Regions from separate parts of the Homo sapiens genome. Here all the other regions are linked to region 2. The links are contacts of gene promoters, found by promoter capture Hi-C in human tissues and cell types (Jung and others, 2019). All regions are on one chromosome and are shown on one strand. The core of a region is centred on a gene start or on the middle of the fragment in contact, and the rest is flanking DNA. Distances in the headings are between cores, read along the strand shown. Region 1 overlaps FOSL1 (FOS like 1, AP-1 transcription factor subunit). Region 2 holds the start of RELA (RELA proto-oncogene, NF-kB subunit). Region 3 overlaps LOC124902693.

Region 1 (4,227 bases), core at 479-2,978, 230 kb after region 2:
TCCGCTGCTGCTGCTACTCTTGCGATGAGCTGAGGCACAAGGCTCAGGAGTGCTGGGGTAGGTGAAGACCAGGCTGGGGGTGAAAGGAGTTAGGGAGGGTGTGGTCATGAGTGTGGGGGTGTGCAGTGCCTCAGGTTCAAGCACAGGCCCTGGGGAAAGGGAGATACAAGGTACAGGGCGGCAGGGGGCTGGTGGGCTGCTGGTGCCACTGGTACTGCCTGTGTCCCCCTCCTTGGCTCCTTCCGGGATTTTGCAGATGGGTCGGTGGGCTTCCAGCACCAGCTCTAGGCGCTCCTTCTGCTTCTGCAGCTCCTCAATCTCTCGCTGCAGCCCAGATTTCTCATCTTCCAGTTTGTCAGTCTCCTGTAGAAGATCAGGAGAGGAGTCAGAAAGGTGAGGGCTGAATACCCCAGAGCCGCAGACGTTTGGACTCAGGGTTCTGAGGAGCTGGGGTTGGGCGGGGGGAGAGGGGGGGCAGTGGAGAGTCCCCAGCAAGTCTGGACTACAACTCCCATAAGCCCCTGGGAGAAAATGGGCACAACTCCCATCAGGCCCAGACGTTTTAGGAGATTGCTGGCACCAGGCAGTGACTCCGGCCTGTAATCCCAGCACTTTGGGAGGCTGAGGCGGGCGGATCACTTGAGACCAGGAGTTTGAGACCAGCCTGGCTAACTTGGCGAAACCCCGTCTCTACTAAAAATACAAAAATTAGTCGGGTAGGGAGGCAGGCGCCTGTAGCCCCAGGTACTCAGCAGGCTGAGGCATAAGAATTGCTGGAGCCTGGGAGACAGATGTCACAGTGAGCCATGAGCCGAGATCTCATCACTGCACTCCAGCCTGGGTGACAGAGCGAGACTCTGTCTCAAAAAAAAAAGGAGATTGCTGGCTGAGCTTCAGCTCTGCTGTGAGTGAGACATGCTGCAGCCAGTTTCTAATCAATTTTTCCTCATCATTTTCCCAGAAGGACTGCCCCTCAGACAAGGAGCTAGGATGGTGAGGAGGGGGCTACATATACTGGGGCTCTGGGGGCTCTGGGAGACAGGGTCCCTCTGAGCTCGGTGGACCAGGGCTGGTGCTCACCGCCTGCAGGAAGTCGGTCAGTTCCTTCCTCCGGTTCCTGCACTTGGCCGCAGCCAGCTTGTTCCGCTCGCGCCTTACTCGGCGGCGCTCCTCTTCCTCCGGGCTGATCTGGGGGTGAGACCCGCAGTGAGGAGGACCCTGGGCTACTGGCTGCCTGGAACTCGCCCCTCATGGTGGCCCAGTGGTAGGACCCTGGCAGAGGTCATGGCAGGGCCCCCTCAGCCGGTGATTTAGGGATCACTGCACCCAACCAGTTCCCTGCACTGAGGCGCTGTCTGCTTTGATTGGTAAAATTTCCTCCTCGCACCTAGCTTTAGTGCACATTCCTCTCCCATAATGCCCTCCCCCTCCGCAAACCCTAACCCTCCTCATCTCCCAGGACTCAACTAAGATGCTCCTGCCTCCAGGAAGCCGTCTTATTCCCCAGCCAGAAGTGACCTTTCCTTCTCAGCACCCTCTTTGCAGGACCCTCATCCTTCTGGATCTGTGGACAACCAAGTCTCCTCTTCCATGAGCTGTAAGCACTAGGAGGGGCTAATGAGTGCTGCTGATTAAGTTGCAATTTATTGGAAAACTACTATGTGCCAGCCAAGTACTTTACGTAGATTCTTGTTTTTCACTGAGAACATGCAAAGATTTTATTTTATTTTATTTTATTTTTTTTAGACAGAGTCTCACTCTTTCCCAGGCTGGAGTGCATTGGCCCAATCTTGGCTCACTGCAACCTCCACCTACTGGGTTCAAGTGATTCTCGTGCCTCAGCCTCCCAAGTAGCTGGGATTACAGGCATGTACCACCACACCTGGCTAATTTTTGTATTTTTAGTAGAGACGAGGTTTCACCATGTTGGCCAGGCTGGTCTTGAACTCTTAACCTCAGGTGATCCACCCTCCTCAGCCTCCCAAAGTGCTGGGATTACAGGCATGAGCCACTGTGCTCGGCCTTTTTTTTTCTTTTTTTTTTTTGTGTAGTGACGGGGTCTCACTGTGTTGCCCAGGCTGGTCTGGAACTCATGGGCTCAAGGGATCCTCCTGCACTGGCCTCCTAGAATGTTTGGATTACCAGGGGGAGTCACCACAGCTGGCCTCTTTTTTAAAAAAACATAGATTCTTTTTTTTTTTTTTTTTTGAGACGGAGTCTCACTCTGTTGCCCAGGCTGGAGTGCAGTGGTGCCATCTCGGCTCACTGCAAGCTCCGCCTCCGGGGTTCACGCCATTCTCCTGCCTCAGCCTCCCGAGTAGCTGCGACTACAGGTGCCTTCCACCACGCCCAGCTAATTTTTTGTATTTTTTAGTAGAGACACGGTTTCATCATGTTAGCCAGGATGGTCTCGATCTCCTGACCTCATGATCCACCTTCCTTGGCCTCCCAAAGTGCTGGGATTACAGGCGTGAGCCACCATGCCTGGCCTTAAACTAGATTCTTAACGCAACTTTCCATGAAAAACTGAAGCCCAGAGAGGATAACTTACTTATGGTTCCAGAGCAGGACTTAGAACCCATAGAACTCACTCACTCTATTCCACATTGAGTGACAGGCCAGATGAGAGAGACCATTTCACCAAAAGGATCCAACTCACAGCTCACAGCCCTACCTGGAGAACCCAGGATCAAAGGGTCACCCTCAGGACCAGGCTGAAGGAAGGACGCACAGGAGGGTTTACCCCTGGCCCGCTTCTGCGGCTCATACCACAGTCCCTCCTCACCACAAAGGCCAGACATTCTGTTCTGGGAAACCTGTCTCTGGCTGATCTCTCACCTTTCCCAGGGCCCTAACCTCTCTCCCCATCCTCTACCTGCCGACCAAGCTTTTTAACCTCATCCCCTGTAGTCTCCCACACCAAAATGCCCCAGGGAGAGGAAAGATGAGCCACTCCTTTAAAGACTCGCCATCTCTTACTCACTTATTTTGGTAAGGGCTTTGGGGAGCCAAGAATTGTCAGTTCCCTCTACTTTGAGCCTTCTGTTAGCTTCCAGTGAGACAGCGTGGCTTGGTGATTAGTTTTGGGGGTTTTATTTTATTTTGTTTTTTCGGTAGAGACAGGGTCTCTCTATGTTGCCCAACCTAGTCTTGAACTCCTGGCCTCAAGTGATCCTCCTGCCTAGGTCTCTCAAAGTGCTGGGATTACAGGCATGAGCTACTGCACCTGGCCCTGGTTTGGTGGTTAGGATCTGACTTTAGAGTTGTATAGACCTGGGGCCAAGGCCAGTCCTGTGTCATTACTCACTACTTGTGTGATCTTGGGCAAGTGACTACCCTTCTGTGCCTTCATTTCTTTGGTGGAAGATGGGGAAAACCAGAGTACATTCCCCAGAGAGATTTTGTGAGGATTAAATGAGACAGGGAAACTGAGACTGAGGGAGTAGCTGAAGGGAACCCTCTTGTTCCTGTTCTCTCCCAGACAACATAAGCGCCCCCTCTATGCATGTCAGCAGGTGGAGACCCCCTCACCATTCCGTGTGCGCACCTTACATGTTCTTGCCTCCGCCTCCATCCTTGCTCCTGCCACCCCCGCTACCTGGAATGTCCTTTCCTTCCTCTCTGCCTCTGCCAGTCCTACCCATCCTTCTAGGCTAATATGCCACCTTTTCCAGGAAGCTTTCCCTGATCTGGAAGTGACTGTTGTACCCTCTGGGCCTCCCGTGGGGCTCCTATCACTTTCAGCCTTGGGCAGTAGTCACCTGTAGCCTACCTTACCCCCTCCTAAGCCTGTGCTCTCCTTTCTGGCAGGAGCTTCTCTGCACCCTAGCACTCCTGGGCGGGGTCGGAACCACTGCAATGCCTCTGTGCCTTACCTGTTCACAAGGCCTTCGACGTACCCCTGGAGGCGGCCCCAGGGCCCGGATGACTCCTGGCCGGGGTTGTGGGGGGCTGTACTGAGGGTAGGTCAGAGGCCTGGGGTAACTGCTGGGCCCCAGGAAATGAGGCTGTACCATCCACTGCAGCTCCTGACTGCCACTCATGGTGTTGATGCTTGGCACCAGGTGGAACTTCTAAGGAATAAGAAATGGAAGGCCACAGATGAGGTCCGTGTGGATTGAGGGGCTTCCACTGGGCAGAGGCTACACTGCTGTCTACCTTCAATGTACAGGCTAGCTCTGGGAACAGAAAGAGCACAGCTTGGCAGTCAGAGACTGACCTGGTGGC
Region 2 (3,289 bases), core at 790-3,289:
AAAATACAAAAAATTAGCCAGGCGTGGTGGCAGGCACCTGTAGTCCCAGCTATTCGGGAAGCTGAGGCAGGAGAATGGCATGAACCCGGAAGGTGGAGGTTGCAGTGAGCTGAGATCGCGCCACTGCACTCCAGTCTGGGGACAGAGCAAGACTCTTTCTTAAAAAAAAAAAAAAAAAAAAAAAGACAAGGTATCGCCCTGCCACCCAAGTGCAGTGGTGCAATCATAGCTTGCCGCAGCAGTGACCTCCTGGGCTCAGGCGATCCTCCCACCTCAGCCTCCCTGGGACTATAGGCGCATGCCACCATACCCAGCTAATTTCTTATTTTTTGTAGACATGGGGTCTCACTATGTTGCCTTGGCTAGTCTTGAATTCCTAGGCTCAAGAGATCTTCCTGCCTTGGCCTCCCGAAGTGCTAGGATTATAAGCATGAGCCACTATGCCCGGCCTGTATATTTTTTTACAGCCTGTCTCTGTCAACTGCAATGTCAACTCCAGGGGAGAGTGCTGGTTCAATGGTTTTCTTCCTCAAACAAGAGACGTGACTCTGAGGGACTTGTCCTTCCAGCTACAGGGGTCAGGAATTCAGAAGTGATTAGGGACCCATCCGTATCCCCTGGAACTCATCTGCTAGAGTAAACGTACAAATAGATAATTTCAAGACAAAGGCAGTTTACTTGCAGAGCTGAGTCAGGGCAAGGAGTGAGGAATTCTGCCCTGGGTCCAGAAAGGAGTAACACTGTAGCGGCTACTTCATAGCCCGCCTCCTGTCCCCTCATGCTGGGCCTCCTAGCCTGCAGGGACCTCACCTGTGGATGCAGCGGTCCGGGCAGAGCTCAGCCTCATAGAAGCCATCCCGGCAGTCCTTTCCTACAAGCTCGTGGGGGTGAGGCCGGTGAGGAGGGTCCTTGGTGACCAGGGAGATGCGCACTGTCCCTGGTCCTGTGTAGCCATTGATCTGTCCAAAGTACAGAGGCCCAGACATCCAAACCTGACTCCCAAACACAGAGGGCTGGGGTTCCACAGTCCCTTCCCCGCACACCCTGGCGCAGTGCTGACCTTGATGGTGGGGTGGGTCTTGGTGGTATCTGTGCTCCTCTCGCCTGGGATGCTGCCCGCGGAGCGCCCCTCGCACTTGTAGCGGAAGCGCATGCCCCGCTGCTTGGGCTGCTCAATGATCTCCACATAGGGGCCAGAGGCCTGGGCTGGCTCTGCCAGGGGACACCGCAGCCCCATTAGGCGGCTGCCCCCACTGCCCTACCCCAGGGAGCACCTCCCCGACCGCCGCGGGGGCCACTTACCTGCCGGGAAGATGAGGGGGAACAGTTCTGAAAGGGGAGGGAGATCAGGGTCAGCACACACCCAATGCCCATTCTCACAAGGAGGAATCTGCTCTCCACGGAGAGGAGAAGCCAGGCTCCCTCCCAGGGGAACTGAGTCAGGACCTGCTCCCTAGAACCTGCGGTGAAACTAAGGGGTGGAGGAAAGGAACCAGAAACACCTGCTTCTTGAGGGAAAACGGGGTAAGGAATCCTTCTTCTCCAGAGGGAAGCTGAATCAGGGCCTGTTGTACTTTCTTAAGGAAAATTGAGGGAGGGCACGCCCCACCTCCCTCCAGAGAGGAAACTGAATCAGATGCGTTCTCCCCTAATAGGGAAACGAAGCCAGAGCTGCCCCCATGGACGGTGTGGAGGGAAACTGAGTCAAGGTTCCCTCTGCTCCCCCACCCAGGGAGGATGCTGAGTCAAGGGCCACCCCCTCCACCCAGAGGGGAAACTGAGTCAGACCCCTCCCCGCCTGCCCCGCCCCGCGCCACCATCCGGCAGGCCGACCGCTCCCTGCGCAGCGCCCGTCGGCGCAGGAAGGGGCGGAAAGCGGCGCGGGGGCTCCCGCCACAGCCGCGGCGGCCCCGGCGATGCCACCCCGCGGGGTCAGAGGGCGACCTCACCGTCCATGGCCGGGGTCCCGGGGGCGGGGCCGGGGTCGCAGCTGGGCCCGCGGCGTGCACTACAGACGAGCCATTCGCCAGAGGCGGAAATGCGCCGCGCGGCCCGCCGTCGCGTCACTGCCCGGAATCCGGCCGCGCCTGCGCGCTGCCCCGCCGCCGCCCGGCGCAGGGGCCGGGAGCAAGTGCACGCCGCGCGGAGGACGAAGAGGCTGCACGCACAGCCGCTGCCGGGGGTCGGGGCCAAGTGCGCGCCTCGCCGAGGACGAAGAGGCTGGCGTGCCCGGTGGCTCGGCTAGCTCCCGGGTCCCGGCCCCGCCTGGAGGGTGGGTCCGCCGATTACTCACTTTGTTTTTAGGGGATTTCAGGGCCCCCTCCCGCCGATCGGCGGAGTTTGGTGATGTCACTCTGGGCCGGGTCTGGAGCAAAGCCAGGGCTACTGGGCTGCGGCCGCCCGCCCCGCGCAGGGAAAAGCCCGACCGGGCCTTCTGCTCCGCAGAGGCCGGGTGGTTGAACTCCGCGCGGGTTTCCTAACCGCTAAAGGTGCCTTTCGGTGGTGGCTGTCTCAGAAGCACGTTAAAATGTCCTACCCACCCCAATCTAGATGCGGCTGTGGGGGAATGGGAGCGGCCGGACCTCCCAGCCTGACAGTGCATCAAGAGCTTTGCGGAGCCTACAGCCCGGATGGGACGACTGAGGCCCTCCCGCTGGCGAGCTGGCCGAGGGCTCGTCCCTCTCCAGCTAAAGCGCCAGCTTACGATACAGCCAAACTGCCGGCTCTCATCGGCTGTGGGAGCAGGAGGCCCCCAGGGGTAAATCCCGGAGCCTCGTCTCTGAAGCCTGGCGCTTGTGTCTCAGAAGGTGCGGGACCCACAGGGACACTTGAATCAGCAGGCTCACGACCCCCCACCCCCCTGCCCCCGCCTGTGTTTGCCCTGGACCTCCAGCTAGGGCTGACCACTAATTCTGTCATGTGACCCCACAGTGCAGGTAGCTCCCCCAAGACCAAGCCCAAGGCGCGTCCGTGTGGAGGCTGGGGCTGACGCACCCCCACCCCAGGCCTCATCCCCAAAGGAGGATGCTCCACTGCAGGGGGCGGAGTCTTCTCCAGATGGAGAAAGACTTTTTTATTTTCTCTGAATTCGTCTTAAATTAGGAAATCATGTGGGAATTGGAAAAGATTGGAAATTCTGACTTGTTTCCCAGGCTCTGAAGAAACAGGAAGAGAAAAGTGAAAATAGAGTTAGCACCCCGCCCACTCATTTCAGTTTCTCCAGTGGCTGGCCCTGATTAGAAAAGTGTTTACTTTTGGCAGGGGGCGGGGGAGGCCGACTTCAGGTGAC
Region 3 (4,360 bases), core at 17-2,516, 170 kb after region 2:
CTTTATTGTCTAACAATGGGATCAGAGTTCCTAGAAAATGAAAGAGCAAGCTATCAGCTTCTGCCCAATAAAGAAGGAGAAATAGCGGAGCTGGGGAGAAGCAAACAGATCTCATACACAGAACGCCTGGTTGTGCAACTGGCTCAGCTTAGAAATAGATCTGGACTCTCAATGGCCATGCAGAAAGGAAGAAAACAAAGGCGCACATCTTCAGGCTGCTGAGGGAAACTCTATATCCAGAAAAACCTCAAGTACAAGTATGGAACAAAGACAGTTTCAGGCTTTTGAGGTTTCAAAAAATGTGACATTCTAAGAAACAGGGTAAATTATTATAGCAATTTCTCAATAGATATTAAATAGTACTGAGACTGATGAAGTCACTGAATATGATGGGTTGATTTATTCTGCAGACACATGCTGAGTGCTACTATGGGCTGGTTACACACTGGACTAGAGAGGGTAACCAGACTGACACATATTGCTGCCCTCATAGAGCTCATTTACATCCTAGTGAGGACAGATAGATGTAAACAGCTACAGTAGGAAAGTTCTGAGTCAGAAGGTGATGAACGTGATGGAGAAAGAGAAGCCAGGGCCTCTAGCCTCAACTTCCAGGAACTGGAACTACAGAACTACAGGAACTATAGCAGACAGATGAACGAACTACGGCTGGGCGTGGTGGCTCATGCCTGTAATCCCAGCACTTTGGGAGGCTGAGGCGGGCACATCACAAGGTCAGGAGTTCGAGACCAGCCTGGCCAACATGGAGAAACCTCGTCTCTACTAATAAATATAAAAATTAGCCGGGGATGGTGGCGGGCGCCTGTAGTCCCAGCTACTGGGGAGGCTGAGGCAGGAGAATGGCATGAACCCAGAAGGTGGAGCTTGCAGTGAGCCGAGATCGCGCCACTGCACTCCAGCCTGGGCAACAGTGTGAGACTCTGTCTCAAAAAAAATAATAATAATTACCAGCAACTGATGGCTTAAAACAATAGAGGTTTATTCTCTCACAGCTCTAGAGGTCAGATGCTAAAACCAAGGTGTTGGCGGAGGCCACACTCTCTACAGAGACTCTGGGGAAGAATCCATTCTGTGCCTCTTCCAACTTCAGGCGACCATCGGCACTCCTTGACTCGTAGCTGCATAACTCCAGCCTGTGCCTGGGAGATCACACTGCCTCCTCCTCTCTGTGTGTCTGTTCTCCTTCTCTTCCTCTCTCTTACAAGGACACTTGTAATGGCATTTACGACCCACCTCTAAAGTGGGCCCTTCTCTCAAGATCTTTAACTTAATTACATCTTTTGCCATATTAAGGTAATATTCACAGGTTCCTGGGATTAGGAAGTGAATATATCTTTGGCGGACCACTTTTGTGCCTACCTTAAGGAGCAAGAAAAATGGGACAGTACTAGAGGGAAATGTAGGGTACAGAGAAGTTTTTTGTTTTTGTTTTTTAAGATGGGAAAAGTTGGCGGGGTGCAGTGGCTCATGTCGGTAATCTCAGCACTTTCGGGTAGAGGCAGGAGGATCGCTTGAGCCCAGAAGTTCAAGACCTGCCTGGGCAACATAGAGAGACCTCATCTCTACTTAAAAAAAAAAAAAAACTAGTCTCTTGTGGTGGTGTACACCTGTAGTCCCAGCTACTTGGGAGGCTGAGGAGATTGCTTCAGCCTAGAAGGTTGAGGCTGCAGTGAGCCATGATCATGCCACTGCACTCCAGCCTGAGTGACAGAGTGAGACCCTATTTCAAAAACAACAACAATGACAAAAAAAAAAAAAGTTTGGAGATGGAGTGGTAACCAACTTGGCAGAGTGGAGGCAGCTGGCACTTAAGTGCTTAAAGATAATAGAAACGAAAAGTTAACAGTTCACTCTACTTATCCCCAAAAAAGTTCAGGACATGGAGGGACCAGATAGCTCAGATGGAAGGAAAAAGGCATAGAGCTGAGAACAGAGAAATTATTTAGGAGTCTGTATATAAAGCAGTTAAGCTTACAAATCCCCTCCCCAACCTTTTTTAGCTGGGCACCAACTCCCATAGCACAGCAGAGGGTTTACTCTTTGGGGAAACTGAATCTGAGAAGCACCAACTCAGGGACACCAGGCACAGCTGAAGGTGGAGTGAGCACTGAGCTGAAAACAAGGGACTGGGTAAAAACATATGTACCAAGCGGTGGCTCCACAACCGTCTCCCCTGACCCTGCTGCTGTAACCTCTATAGCAGGGGCCATGCAGATATCCCCCAGACAGATTGGAGAATTCTCTGTAGAAACCAGACGGTCCCTTCAGTGAGATTTACAGATTCTGATATTTGGGTGTACCCAGTAAAATATCCTGCTTGCTTCAGTCGCCACAGAGTGAAGCCCATAGATCAACAAGCCCCAAATTGTGCTTCCAATTGCCTCTGCTTAATGCCTCATTCTTAAATATGGACAGCCGAAGATCAAACATTTGAGGAAAACTTCCAACAATACACACACAAAAAAAATGGAGCGGGGGGAAGCAGGGGAGGGGAACTCAGGGGAAACAATAAGAAAAGCAGAAGAAAACTTAAAAACTGGAAAAATCCTTGGAGAGCTAAGAGAACAGACTCATGAAACAAGAACAGAAATACTATATATAAAAAAAGAAGCACGGCCGGGCTCGGTGGCTCACGCCTGTAATCCCAGCACTTTGGGAGGCCAAGATGGGTGGATCACCTGAGGTCAGGAGTTCAAAACCAGCCTGACCAACATGGTGGAACCCCGTTTCTACTAAAAATACAAAAAATTAGCCGGGTGTGGTGATGCATTCCTGTAATCCCAGCTCATGCAGTGAGCACAGGAGGCTAAGTCAGGAGAATTGCTTGAACCGGGGAGGCGGAGGTTGCAGTGAGCCAAGATCACGCCATTACACTCCAGCCTGGGTGACAGAGCAAGACTCCAGACTCCATCTCAAAAAAAAAAAAAAAAGCAATCAATGAACAAGAGAGTTAAAATGTAAAATTTCAATAAGAAAGAAAGATACAGTTAATAAAGTTGAAAGTGGATCTCATGAAAATAGAGATGAGATTGGTGGTTACTGGAGGCCAGGAAGGGTGGAGGAAATAAAGACATGTTAATGAGTAGAAATGTACAGTTAGATGGAAGAAATGGGACCCAGTGTTCTATAGATCAGTAGGGTGACTGTAGTTAACAATAATCTATTGTACATTTCAAAATCACTAGAAGAGAATGATTCGAATGTTCCTGGCATAAAGAAAAGATAAATATTTAAGATGATGGATATCCCAATTGCCCTGATTTGATCTTTACACATTATATGAATGTATCAAAATATTACAGGTACCCCCAAAATACGTACATCTACTATACATCAATTGTTTTAAAGTTAATGAAATTGCCCAGAGAATACAATAAAAAGAGACGGGCAAAAGGAGAAAAAAAGATAACAGCTATAATTCAAGGTCTAACATCCTCTAGTAAGGCCAGAGAAAATGGGGTGAGGATACAGGTTGAGTTAGGGAGTGGTAGCAAACAGGTAATTTACATAGAAAAAAACACTATCTATAGAATTAAAAGAAAAGAACAAAAAGACTTATAAATAGCAATACTTGGAAGTTAGAAGATAGTGAGGGAATTAGCCAGGCATGGTGGCACATGTCTGTAATCCCAGCTACTTGGGAGGCTGAGACAGGAGAATCGCTTGAGCCTGGGAGGCAGAGGTTGCAGTGAGCCGAGATTGCGCCACTGCACACTCCAACCTGGGCAACAGAGCAAGACTGTCTCAAAAAAAAAAAAGAAAAAAGAAAAAGAAAGAAAGAAAGAAAGAAAAGAAAAGAAAAGAAAAGGAAATAATGAAGGACATACCAACAAACACAATCACCATTATGGCACGTGGCTTCTTATGTTTTTTCTCACTTCTTTCTTATCTCCTCTCTTGCTTTTGTCACTTGGGAGCCCTTCATTCTTCAGGCTCCTCTTTCAGAAATTTTGCCCACTTCAGTCTGCACCTTCTTCCACAACTCTCAAAATCTACCCTTTATCCTGCTGCAATTCTCCATCTCATAGACCCCATTTAGTGTCAGACTAAATCCTTCTAGCCCATCCTCCATCCTTTTCTCAAACATTTCCCTATGAGCTCCCAGTCACACCTTTTCTCCCAATATCCAAGTGTCCTCTGTCAACACATTACCAAGTCTTCTCTTTCTCCTCCATATGTTCCCACTTCCCTCTGAACCAGAGACTCCTCTTTGCTTCCTTTGATCCTGGCCTCCGCCTTCAGCCCCAGAAGCTCTTTTCCTCACTTCCACTCTCTTTTATTTTAGGCTCAGACTCTCTCCTTTCCTTTCTCAACTTTACCCCTTCAGTGTCAATAATGT

Evidence for each region. Contacts are between HindIII fragments. The study calls those that stand out against the background at their distance.
Region 1: a contact is called between a fragment that was not itself captured here and the fragment with the promoter of RELA in region 2, in 1 of the 25 tissues and cell types used here (dorsolateral prefrontal cortex).
Region 3: a fragment that was not itself captured here is called in contact with the fragment with the promoter of RELA in region 2 in 1 of the 25 tissues and cell types used here (dorsolateral prefrontal cortex).

The regions. Positions count from the first base shown.
Region 1 is chr11:65,892,934-65,897,160 of GRCh38, forward strand. FOSL1 (FOS like 1, AP-1 transcription factor subunit) reads right to left here. Exons shown (of 4, transcript NM_005438.5): 2 at 3,876-4,073; 3 at 1,081-1,188; 4 at 1-363. Among named protein-coding and RNA genes, the nearest start is that of CCDC85B, 4.4 kb to the left of the region's middle. RefSeq lists enhancers at 685-1,189, 1,292-1,401. The HindIII fragment of the contact is 3,107 bases long and covers 176-3,282 here.
Region 2 is chr11:65,660,877-65,664,165 of GRCh38, forward strand. It overlaps RELA (RELA proto-oncogene, NF-kB subunit), which reads right to left and starts at 2,040. Exons shown (of 11, transcript NM_021975.4): 1 at 1,950-2,040; 2 at 1,303-1,329; 3 at 1,061-1,212; 4 at 811-959. The coding sequence starts at 1,956. It overlaps RELA-DT (RELA divergent transcript), which reads left to right and starts at 2,130. Exons shown (of 4, transcript NR_183625.1): 1 at 2,130-2,272. RefSeq lists silencers at 1,727-1,786, 1,847-2,256 and an enhancer at 2,347-2,546. The HindIII fragment of the contact is 29,460 bases long and covers 1-3,289 here.
Region 3 is chr11:65,827,450-65,831,809 of GRCh38, forward strand. LOC124902693 reads right to left here. Exons shown (of 7, transcript XM_047427980.1): 1 at 3,849-4,360. Among named protein-coding and RNA genes, the nearest start is that of SNX32, 4.3 kb to the right of the region's middle. RefSeq lists a silencer at 409-703. The HindIII fragment of the contact is 5,096 bases long and covers 1-3,814 here.